Linked DNA regions of Homo sapiens: region 1 is linked to region 2. Evidence: promoter capture Hi-C in human tissues and cell types (Jung and others, 2019). All regions are on one chromosome and are shown on one strand. The core of a region is centred on a gene start or on the middle of the fragment in contact, and the rest is flanking DNA. Distances in the headings are between cores, read along the strand shown. Region 1 has its middle 28 kb from the start of DHRS2. Region 2 holds the start of DHRS4 (dehydrogenase/reductase 4).

Region 1 (4,964 bases), core at 662-3,161, 350 kb after region 2:
CCTTAGTGGCAAAGTGAGACCTTGTCTCAAAAATAAAAATTAAAAAAATGCTCCCAGGAGAAACCAGTAAGGGAGTGTGGAAAGTAAGACAGGGAAGGGAGGAGGACAAGCAAGGGAATGTTTCAGCAAAGCCCCAGCCTTAGCCTGGTCCCAAAGGTCAGTTCTGGAGTGTAAACTACACCTCACAGTTTGCCCAGATTTCAGACAATGGAACTAGGCTGTTACCTAGTTCAGCTAAAGGCTGCCCCTGCTTCTCTCGATGTGCAGAAGCTGTGGGAGATGATTAAACGGGTCACAGGGGCTCTGGTGCAACCTCAATGGGCCCCTTACACTGGGTTTTCTCTCACTCATAACTTAACCTAATCCTAAAAAGTACCAAAAACATTTCTGGCAGAGGGGAGAGTATAAATAAAGTGCACAGAACCTGAAGGAACAAGAGGCTATATGAAAGTATTGGAAAGGAAGAGGACAGGAAAGAAAGAAATAGGAAACAAATTTGGAAAACCAAACTGTAGTCACTGGGACTTGATATGGTTTGGCTGCGTCCCCACCCAAAACTCATCTTGAATTGTACCTCCCCACATCTCGCTTCTGCACTGCCCTAGCAGAGGCTCTCCATGAGGGCCCTGCCCCTGCAGCAAACTTCTGCCTGGACATCCAGGCATTTCCATACACAGCAGTCGGGGCCTGGAAATGTAGGGTTGAAGCCCCCACACAAAGTCCCCACTGGGGCACTGCCTAGTGGAGCACCATCCTCCAGACCCTAGAATGGTAGATCCACCAACAGCTTGCACCATGCACCTGGAAAAGCCGCAGACACTCAACACCAGCCCATAAAAGCAGCCGGGAGGGACTTTGTACCTTGCAAAACCGCAGGAGTAGAATGACATGGTTTGGCTATGTCCCCATACTGTTCTCATGATAGTGAATAAGTCTCACGAGATCTGATGTTTTTATAAGGGGCTTCCCCTTTTGCATGGCTCTCTATCTTGCCTGCCACCATGTAAGAAGTCCCTTTGCTCTTCCTTGGTCTTCTGCCATGACTGTGAGGCCTCCCCAGCCATATGGAACTGTGAGTCCATTAAACCTCTTTTTCTTTATAAATCACCCAGTCTTGGGTATGTTTTATCAGCAGCGTGAAAATGAACTAATACAGAACTGTATAAAATTTTGAATTTCTGGCCAATGCATAAACAAAGGGAAACCAAAAGGACTTTGAATCTGATGATTCAGAAGATTAATCTGGCAACTATGTGTGAGAGGAATTGGAATGAAACTTGTGTAGGGTAATACCCATTATGAGGTCATATCTATAATCCAGGCAAGAGGTAATGGTGGCACAACCCCAGGTGATGGTGCTGGGAAGGGAAAGTAGAGAATAGTTGCGAAGTCTTACAGAGAAAGATCTGGTCTTTCTAAATGCTTTGACACGAGAGAAAAGAGACAGAGAGGATCCAAACATGAAGCCAGGGACAATGGTGGCATTGCCAACAAAAATAGGTAACAGAGGAGAAGAAACAAGCTTGATAGAAAATATGAATTCTACCTATTGACATGGTGACTTTGAGATGAAGGGAAGCCTTCTAAATGGAGTTGTCAAGAAGGCAGTTAGAAATGCAAGACTGATAACAGAATTCAAGCATGGAGCCATGGATGTGTGCATTGTCTACAGAGATGTGATAGAAGCCATGACTGTGGATAGGATTACTAAGGGAGGGAGGGCAGAGACAGAAGAGGAAAAGGCCAGTATAAGATACTTGTAAGTTGTGCTGTTTGCCTGTTGCCTCTTGGGCCCATGCCACCCTCCCCTGTGGTGTGAGGGCCAAGGGACTGCCAACAGCCTTTCCCAGACTCTCTCTTGCCAGCTGGCTTCCTATTCAATTCTGCTACTAAGAGGCACTGAGACGTGGCTGAAGGACATAGGGTGAGAGAAGGGTTTTCCTCCTGTTTCCAGCTCCTGTCAATGTCCCTCCAGGAGGACTCTAGCCTAGGGCTTAGCAAACTTTTTCTGTAAAGAGCTGGACATGAAGTAGTTTAAGCTTTGCAGGCCATATGGTCTCTGTTATAACTCCTCAACTCTGCCATTGTACTGCAAGAGCAGACATAAACAATATATAAATGAATAAGGATGACCACATTGCAATAAAACTTTATTCATGGACACTGGAGTTTGAGTGTTTTATAATTTTCATGTGCCATGAGATATATCTTCCTTTTCGGTTTTATTTTCAGCCATTTTTAAAATATGAAGAATATTCTTTTTTTGTTTGCTTGTTTTTTGAGATGAACTCTTGCTCTGTCACCCAGTCTGGAGTGGAGTGGCGCAATCTCGTCTCACTGCAACCTCTGCCTCCCGGGTTCAAGCAACTCTCCTGCCTCAGCTTCCCAAGTAGCTGGGACTACAAGTGTGCACCACCATGACTGGCTAATTTTTTTTTTTTTTTGTATTTTTAGTAGAAACAGGATTTTGCCACATTGGCCAGACCGGTCTCGAATTCCTGACCTCAGACCATCCACCCGCCTCGGCCTCCCAAAGTGCTGGGATTACAGGCGTGAGCCCCGTGCCTGGCCAAAATGTGAAGAACATTCTTAGCTCGTGGGCCATGGAGAAACAGGTGGCAGCTGGATTTGGCCTATGGGCAATAGGTTGCCCGTGCTAGCTCCCAATTCTTCAGACACTCCTGGCAGCAGGTGAACTGCACCTCCTGGAGATACCAGCGCCCCAGAGGCTCAACCCCATCACAATGCATCCTCATTCTGTGGTCTGAACATGGGCCAGGCAAGGCTGAGCCTGGAGGCTCTGGTGGCCCCACTTCTTCTCTTCTGTCCCTCCAGCCCTGAGAAGGAACTCCTGTAGTTACCATATCTGGTCACTGCAGCATCTCCATTTGCCCTTCCAACCCTCCAACACTGGAGTAGTCAATTCCCTGAATACATCCCTTCTGTAAGAAATGCCTTGCATGGAATCGTTTTCCTGCTTGGACTCTGACTGACACAGAAATCCTTCCATTTTAGGGAGGGGAAGAAGAAAAGGAAGCCAAAAGGGAGAAGTCAAAGACTGAAGAGGCAAATTAGGAGTGTCCCCACACTGAAGGGAAAAGAAGCTCAGGAAGAAGGTCCTGGGGAGCAGCAGTTGCCACTGCTGAGAGGTGAAGAGGATGCCTGCGAAGAGGGTGATGAGCTGAGGAACTTCCAGAAGTCATCCTCAGGGGGTGGCAGGGGCCCGGGAGCTGGAGGCAGACAAGACACAGCCTCCTCTTGTGAGAGTTTGTGAGAGGCAGGGTCTGAGGCAGTCCCTTGTGATGCAGGAGAGAAGCATGGAGATGGCTCTGCCCGTGTCAGGACTGTCAATCCTCCCAGTTGGCAAACACATGGAACCCGGGGGTAGCCACCTTCCCTCCTGACTCTCTCCCTCCCTACACTGCACTTTCCTGGCCCTGCCTCTGATTACAGAACACACCTGGGCACTGGCTGAAGTTCCCTGCTCCTGCAGATATTCTTGTGGGTAAGCAAGCACAGGTGAATTACCAGGGATGCCCCTCCAAGAGCTGTCTTGTGAGCACAGAGGATTGTGGGTGTTTTAAACGTCTTCATGACATTAATTAATCCAGCAAATATTTATTCACCACCACCTGTGTGCTAGGCACTACTCTAGGTGGTATTGATACAGCAGTGAGTTAAAAAAATGCCTTCAAGGTGCTTATATTCTTGTGGGAGAGACAGGTAATAAACAAGTAGACATAAAAATGGCAGGTGCTGAGAAGTGCTCTGAAGAAAAATACAACAAGGTGAGGGGGACAGGGAGTGCAGGATGTGAGTGATTTTTTTCTCTGGCCCATATCAGGATGGCCTCTCTGAAGAGTTGACAAGTGAGCAGAGGCTTAAATAAGTGAGAGTGAAGAATGTTCCAGGCAGTGGGAAAAACCAAGGCAGAAGCAGGAGGTAGGAGAGTGTTTGGCATAGTTCGAGGGACAGCAAGGAGGCTTAGTGTACCTGGAGTAAATAGGCTGAAAGAGAGGGATAGGAACTAACTCAGAGAGGGTTAGGCTTTGAGTCACGATGAGGACTTAGCTGTTACTCTGAGCAGTGGGTTTGAACACAGAAGTGACACATCTAATTTTCATGTAAAAGATTGACCATGACAACTATGGGGAGAAGAAACTGCAAGATGACCCCTCCATTCTCAGAATGATGTTACTCTTCTAAAAATAGAGCTAGAAAGTCATATCCCACAAGTGTAGGTTGGTGCTCAAGTGGCTGAGTACAAGAATAATAGAAGAAAAGCTGTGAGTCAGAGTTGGCCACAACCTAAACATGAATTAGGAGTGTCATGCCACGGGGAAAACTCAAAAGGCAGACAACCCTGGGATGTGTTGGTATAGCCATGGGACACGCAAAGACTGGGACACTGACTTTGTGCGTGTTCAGCATAAGTGGGCTTCCTGCCATGCCTTCTGTTTGCAATGCTTCCCACCTGTCCCACAGTCTAGGCTGTACACAGGCCTGTCTCCCTCCACAAGCACTTCCTCCCAGTGTTTTTCCTTCCGTCTGTGTCTTTTGTGCTGTCATTCGGTCAGCAACTACCATGTATAAAACTTAATGAGCAGTGCCATGGGAGAGTCTCTGATAAGTGCTTGGAGCTCAAATCCTTTGTTAATTGTATCTAGACAGCTATGTCTGCTGTTGGCACAAATCTCTCTTGTTGGCCCCTTCAAGTTTATCCTCTAACTGTGGGCTTTTCTCCACCTCTTATAATTGTACTCTTGGTGGATTTTCCTATTTATGAAGCTCTATTGGAATATATGCCCTGCCAGAGAAAAGATCTTCTCTACTGTCAAGAATCACTGGTTTCAGTTGGGTCAGGACTGACAACCTAGCCTCTGTGTGTAGACAAGTGAAGACAATCAGGGCTAGGGTTGGCAGAATTGTGCAGGGAGTCGATATGTCATCTTCAACACCTGTAC
Region 2 (4,984 bases), core at 141-2,640:
CCGTCACGCTCAGCCCCTCCCCCTGCAGCGTGGCCACCGCCTGGTCCACATTCTGCTGCTTCCGGCTGCTGACGACCACATGGGCCCCGTCCTGGGCCAAACGCCGGGCGATGGCGAAGCCGATCCTGTGAGCAGAAAGAGACAAAGACTGCTAAGGCCTGTGCAGGGGAAGAGGTCGACAGTATGAGCTCTGAAGTTAAGACTGCCCGGGTTTGAATTCTGGCTCTTTCTCTATATAACCCCTACGTGTGCCTACTATGTGTAAAACAGGCTTAATGGCATGGCCATTTTTGGCATTCCTTTACTTGTTTTTATTATGACCTGGACCACAGCCTCAGTTCCCAAGAACTGACATCACTTTCTACAGTTCCCACCATGGGTGACAGGCTTCATCCCCTCTTGGGACTGAGAGGTGAGAAATGAGCTGGGTTTGCAGCAGCAGCCACTTCCGTGATTTGAGGGTCTCACTCAGAACAGCCCTGCCCCCAGGTTTCTTTCTTACTCGTCTACATCATTCTCAAAATTCTATCCTTAGTTATTTTTTGGGGTGCATGTGAAAAGATGGTCTCCGGTCAAAAATGTAAATATTGCCTTGGGAGGAAGAGTTACACATTTTGCATTTGTCAGCTATTAGCATTTTACCTACATTTGTATTTTAGTTTTGTGAAGAGCTGGCATCTAGCAAAGTCCTGTAGAAATGAGGACCAGGATAGACAAGAATGGTGGGTGAGAAACAGGCTGGGCAAGGTCGGCCCAGATGTACCGACCTAAACAAAAATCTCGACATATGGCTCTGGTGTCCCATCTAGGTAAGGGGGAGGGGTTCCGGGGGACTTTCCGGTGCCCAAATAGAATGTCTGGTACATTTTCAAAGTGCTGGAGGCCGTGGGATAGTATTTTGAAATCCAGATTTCCTTGGATTTCCAGTTTCTGGTCTTCCCAGACGCTAGGTGGCGCTGGTTGACTGGGGCAGCCCAGAACACTGGGGAGACTAGATCGATAGGGCTGCACAGAGGTGGCACAGTTGTGCCAGAGGTAGCAGGGACAGGAGGGCTGGCAAGGGAGGGTCCAGGGCTAGGGGATTCGGAGTGGCTTCAGGCGGACCACGTGGCTACCTTTTTTCCAGGGCCAGACTTTGGCAGCGTGTAAGGTCTGAGGACAGGGGCACCGGAGGCCGAGGATGAGAGGCCAGTGCCTGTTTCCAGGCAGCCAGGGCCTCAGAAACTCCGGCCGGAGCACTCACCCGTCGGTGGAGGCCGTTACCAGGGCCACCTTATTTGCGAGCGGGTCCCGGCGGGTCATCCCGGAGCTGGCCATCCGCACCGAATTCCAAGCCCGGGCACAGAGGCCTAGCAGCCCCGCCTTGTGCATGGATCAGACCAGCAAGTATGGGTTCCACTCTTCCCAGGGGCGGTGACAGAGTAGGGCGAGGGGCAGGACGAAGGGCGGGCCGATTCCCTGCCCGCCCTGCTCCCCGCCCCGGTACCGCTGTGAGCGGTCTGTGGCCCTGGGCACCTCCATCCGCCGCGGCGCCCCTCCACCATCTACCTTCCGCCTGACTGGGGCTTGCCTTTCCGGGCTGGCGGGTGAGCTCTCCGTTCAAGTTGCCTGTAGGGCTCGCCCCTCCCCTGGCCCTTGCAGGAACCCGCAGGCTTTGGCTGCTGCCTTTCTGCATCTGCTTGCCCACCTTTTCTTCTCTGGGAAGTGGGGGTTTTGAGTTGGTTGCTTTTGCTTCTTCAGAATTCCTTCTCCAAGAAAGTCTGGGTCTATGTGTGTGACAGCCCACAGGAGGGCAAATGTTTTGAGACTGCCCATGGAGGTGAGGCCTGTGGTCGCCATGGAGTCCACCAGGTGAGGCTGGAAGAGCCTGGGAGAGAGACGTGATAGGGAGTAGCTGCGCCAGGCCTGGCACTGCCCTTCACTCTGCCCAAGGTCTCTTCCATCTTCACGGGCCCTGGAGGGCAGACTATGGTCATTGGCCAAACAGCATTCTCATGTCCGTTGACAAAGGGACTTCCTCCTTTACAGGGGCTAAGTGGTAGCGAGGAGGCTGGACAGTCCCTCAAGCAGTGGTGGAAATGCAAAGAACTCGGGGCACTCAAGTTCTCCCTAACCACTCTGTCCCCAGGTCTTAGCCGCCATCTTAGTTCAATAAATATTTGTTGAATGCAAAATCTCTTTATGAACTGTAAGCTACTAAGCACATAGTAGTTACTGCCACCATGTAGTGATTATTATTGGTGCCCTGGGCCAGACTCTTCATCTGTAAATTACTGAGGGTATGGATGATGAATAAAGTCCTTGCCAGCTATAAATTCTGTGTCCAAGACTTCAGTCTGCACTTCTGCCAAGTGGGCTGAAATGATCTCCCTCCTGGGTTTCCGGGAGAATGAAGAAATCTGGATGGCTTATGGTACAGTGTAGAAAGGCCCCAACAGACCCAAATGCAAGCATCTGAATTGGTTTAACCCACTGGCCTCCAAAGCCAGACTGAGAAGCAGTGCTGGTTCATGGCAGCGTTTTCACTAGTTCAAGGCAAAATGAGAAAAGGAAACAATTACAGTGAGTTTCATAAAGCTAAGCTTATTTAACAGTCCTTTATTGTGGAGTATACGTTTGCTTCTTTTTGTGTGTGTGTGTGTGTGTTAGTGTTTTCTTTTAGAAAAGATGATGAAAGCAGATGGGTAGGTTTAGAGATGTGTTATTGGTGAAATCACCAGTTTGGCAGCCTTATGCCAGTCCCTACAATTAAAGGGGAAAGAATCCTGGTTTGTGAAATCCAGTTCTAGGCATGACTTTTGAATAGAATTCATGTTTGCTCAAGATTCATTTAGTATATGTGCAGGTAAGCTGAGCAGCTGAAAAAGGGTTTCAACATTCAAAAGGGGGTGTATGGTGAGCAAGTAATAGAACGGCCTGCACTGGAATTCTAGTGTTTTCCTCAGCCAAGAAGTTACAGCTGCAATACTCTGCTTTGCTACTCAGCAGATCCCGATGAGACAGGAGAGCTTCAGTATAATTTTCCCCATGTCCAGGGAAGGCTGACTCTGACTGGTGCTCCTCAGTCTGAGCCTCATGAATTATTGACAGAGGCTGGAAGCGCCACACTGCTTGTCCTCTTGCACTGTTTGGAGCTAACGCACTGTGGGAACCCTTCCCAGGGCTCTCCATCTGTGTGTGCGGCTGGGGGAGGGTACACAGGAGGACGGCTGCGGGGGTTCTCAGGGCTTGGTTCAAAGGGACAGGCCTGCAGGGGGCGTTTGATCTCTCTTTCCCTTCTCTTCAGAGGTAGACAGGTGGACTCAGGGGCTGAGGTTGGCAGGAAGGTGAGGAAGACTACACTTCAAAGAGCAAAGGATTCTGGGAAGAGAGAATTGTGGCTTGGGTGCTTGGTGAACATTACATGGCCCTTCCTTGTGTGGGCAGGGTTGCTATTTGGCCTCTAGCACTATTTCTTTTGTGGAGAGCACAGGGGACATTAGGGAGGGGGCCTGTGAGCAGAAAAGGATGGAAGGAAGTCAAGAAGTATGGGACTCTCTAGCACTACTCCTCATCAAGCTCGCTTATTGGAGATAAGAACAGGAAATCTTGGGCTGGGCATGGTGGCTCACACCTGTAATCCTCTTTACTAACAATACGAAAATTAGCTGGGCGTGGTCAGAAGTTCGAGATCAGCCTGGCCAACATGGTGAAACCTCATCTCTACTAAAAATACAAAAACCAGCCGGGCCTGGTGGCATGTGCCTGTAATCCCAGCTACTCAGGAGGCTGTGGCAGGAGAATTGCTTGAACGTGGGAGGCAGAGGTTGCAGTGAGCCAAAATCATGCCATTGCACTCCAGCCTGGGCAGCAGAATGAAAGACTCCATCTAAATAAATAAATAAATAAATAAATAAATAAATAAATAAATAACGGGAAATCTTTCAGGGAAATACATGCATATGTGGGAGTATCTCTTTGAAATGGGAACTGTAACAGGCAATGGGATTGTTCTTACATGGAGGTGGTAACATCTGCCTATCTTGAGGGACAAATGCCTTCATGAGTGAGGGCACTACTCCCATCCTTTTCAAGGGCTGCCTGCGGTCCAGAAGAGATTTCACCTGGGGTGGAATTTAAGTCTTGCGTTTTGCAATAGCTGTCCTAGATTGAGTCGAGTCCTGCATCACTGACACAAGTCAGAATTAGGCAATGTGGGAGGGCTGGTGTGGGGTTAGGACAACTACCAAGCAGAGAAAGTAATAGTAAGAGTGTTAACAGTATTTATTGAGCACTTCCTTACTAAATGCTGGCAAGCGTTAAGTGCTTTTTATAAATTTTATTGAATATTTTTAGTCTGGTGAAATGGGTGTTTTAATGTAGGGAGCCAAAGGCCTGAGGGTCGTGACCAACTCAGCATTCCACTGAAGGCTGTATGATCTAACAGCAAACTGTTTATCATGAATGCAGAATGTGGGCAAACTCACTTCTGCGCCTGCTACCAGAAGGTTTGCTGAGGGCAATGACTCCCTGGTGCTGTGCTCCTTGAGGTTATCTACAGGAACATCTGGAGACTACTGTTCAAAGAATGCAGTCATGCAAGCCTGCACTAAGCCAAGCAGCTGACTGACAACTACCCCCTTCTCCCTATCTCCTTTACTCAATAAATACAAAGGGCTATAGAAGCTCAGGGCCCTTCTTCACTAGAAGCAAGGAGCCTCCTGACCCCTTCTTCCAAAATACTCTTTTGTCTTTGTCTTTATTCCCACATTCATCTTCTTTTGTTAAGTCCACCAAGGACTGTGGCATTTTAACTTCTTCTTCTTTTTTTTTTTTTACTTTGTGACAGAGTTTTGCTCTGTCGCCAGGCTGGAGTGCAGTGGCACAATCTCAGCTCACTGCAACCTCTGCCTCCTGGGTTCAAGTGATTCTCCTGCCTCAGCCTCCCAAGTAGCTGGGACCACAGGTGCATACCACCTCACCCAGCTAATTTTTGTATTTTTAG

Evidence for each region. The method cuts DNA at HindIII sites, captures the fragments that hold promoters and counts their contacts. A contact is called where the count stands out against the background at its distance.
Region 1: a fragment that was not itself captured here is called in contact with the fragment with the promoter of DHRS4 in region 2 in 2 of the 25 tissues and cell types used here (H1 embryonic stem cells and lymphoblastoid cells).

Annotation. Positions count from the first base shown.
Region 1 is chr14:23,605,535-23,610,498 of GRCh38, reverse strand. No RefSeq gene overlaps it. Among named protein-coding and RNA genes, the nearest start is that of DHRS2, 28 kb to the left of the region's middle. RefSeq lists an enhancer at 4,101-4,310. The HindIII fragment of the contact is 3,253 bases long and covers 285-3,537 here.
Region 2 is chr14:23,950,176-23,955,159 of GRCh38, reverse strand. DHRS4 (dehydrogenase/reductase 4) reads right to left here and starts at 1,390. Exons shown (of 8, transcript NM_021004.4): 1 at 1,244-1,390; 2 at 1-125. The coding sequence starts at 1,371. DHRS4-AS1 (DHRS4 antisense RNA 1) reads left to right here and starts at 48. Exons shown (of 2, transcript NR_023922.2): 1 at 48-412. RefSeq lists enhancers at 749-878, 929-1,058, 1,669-1,868. The HindIII fragment of the contact is 7,990 bases long and covers 1-4,984 here.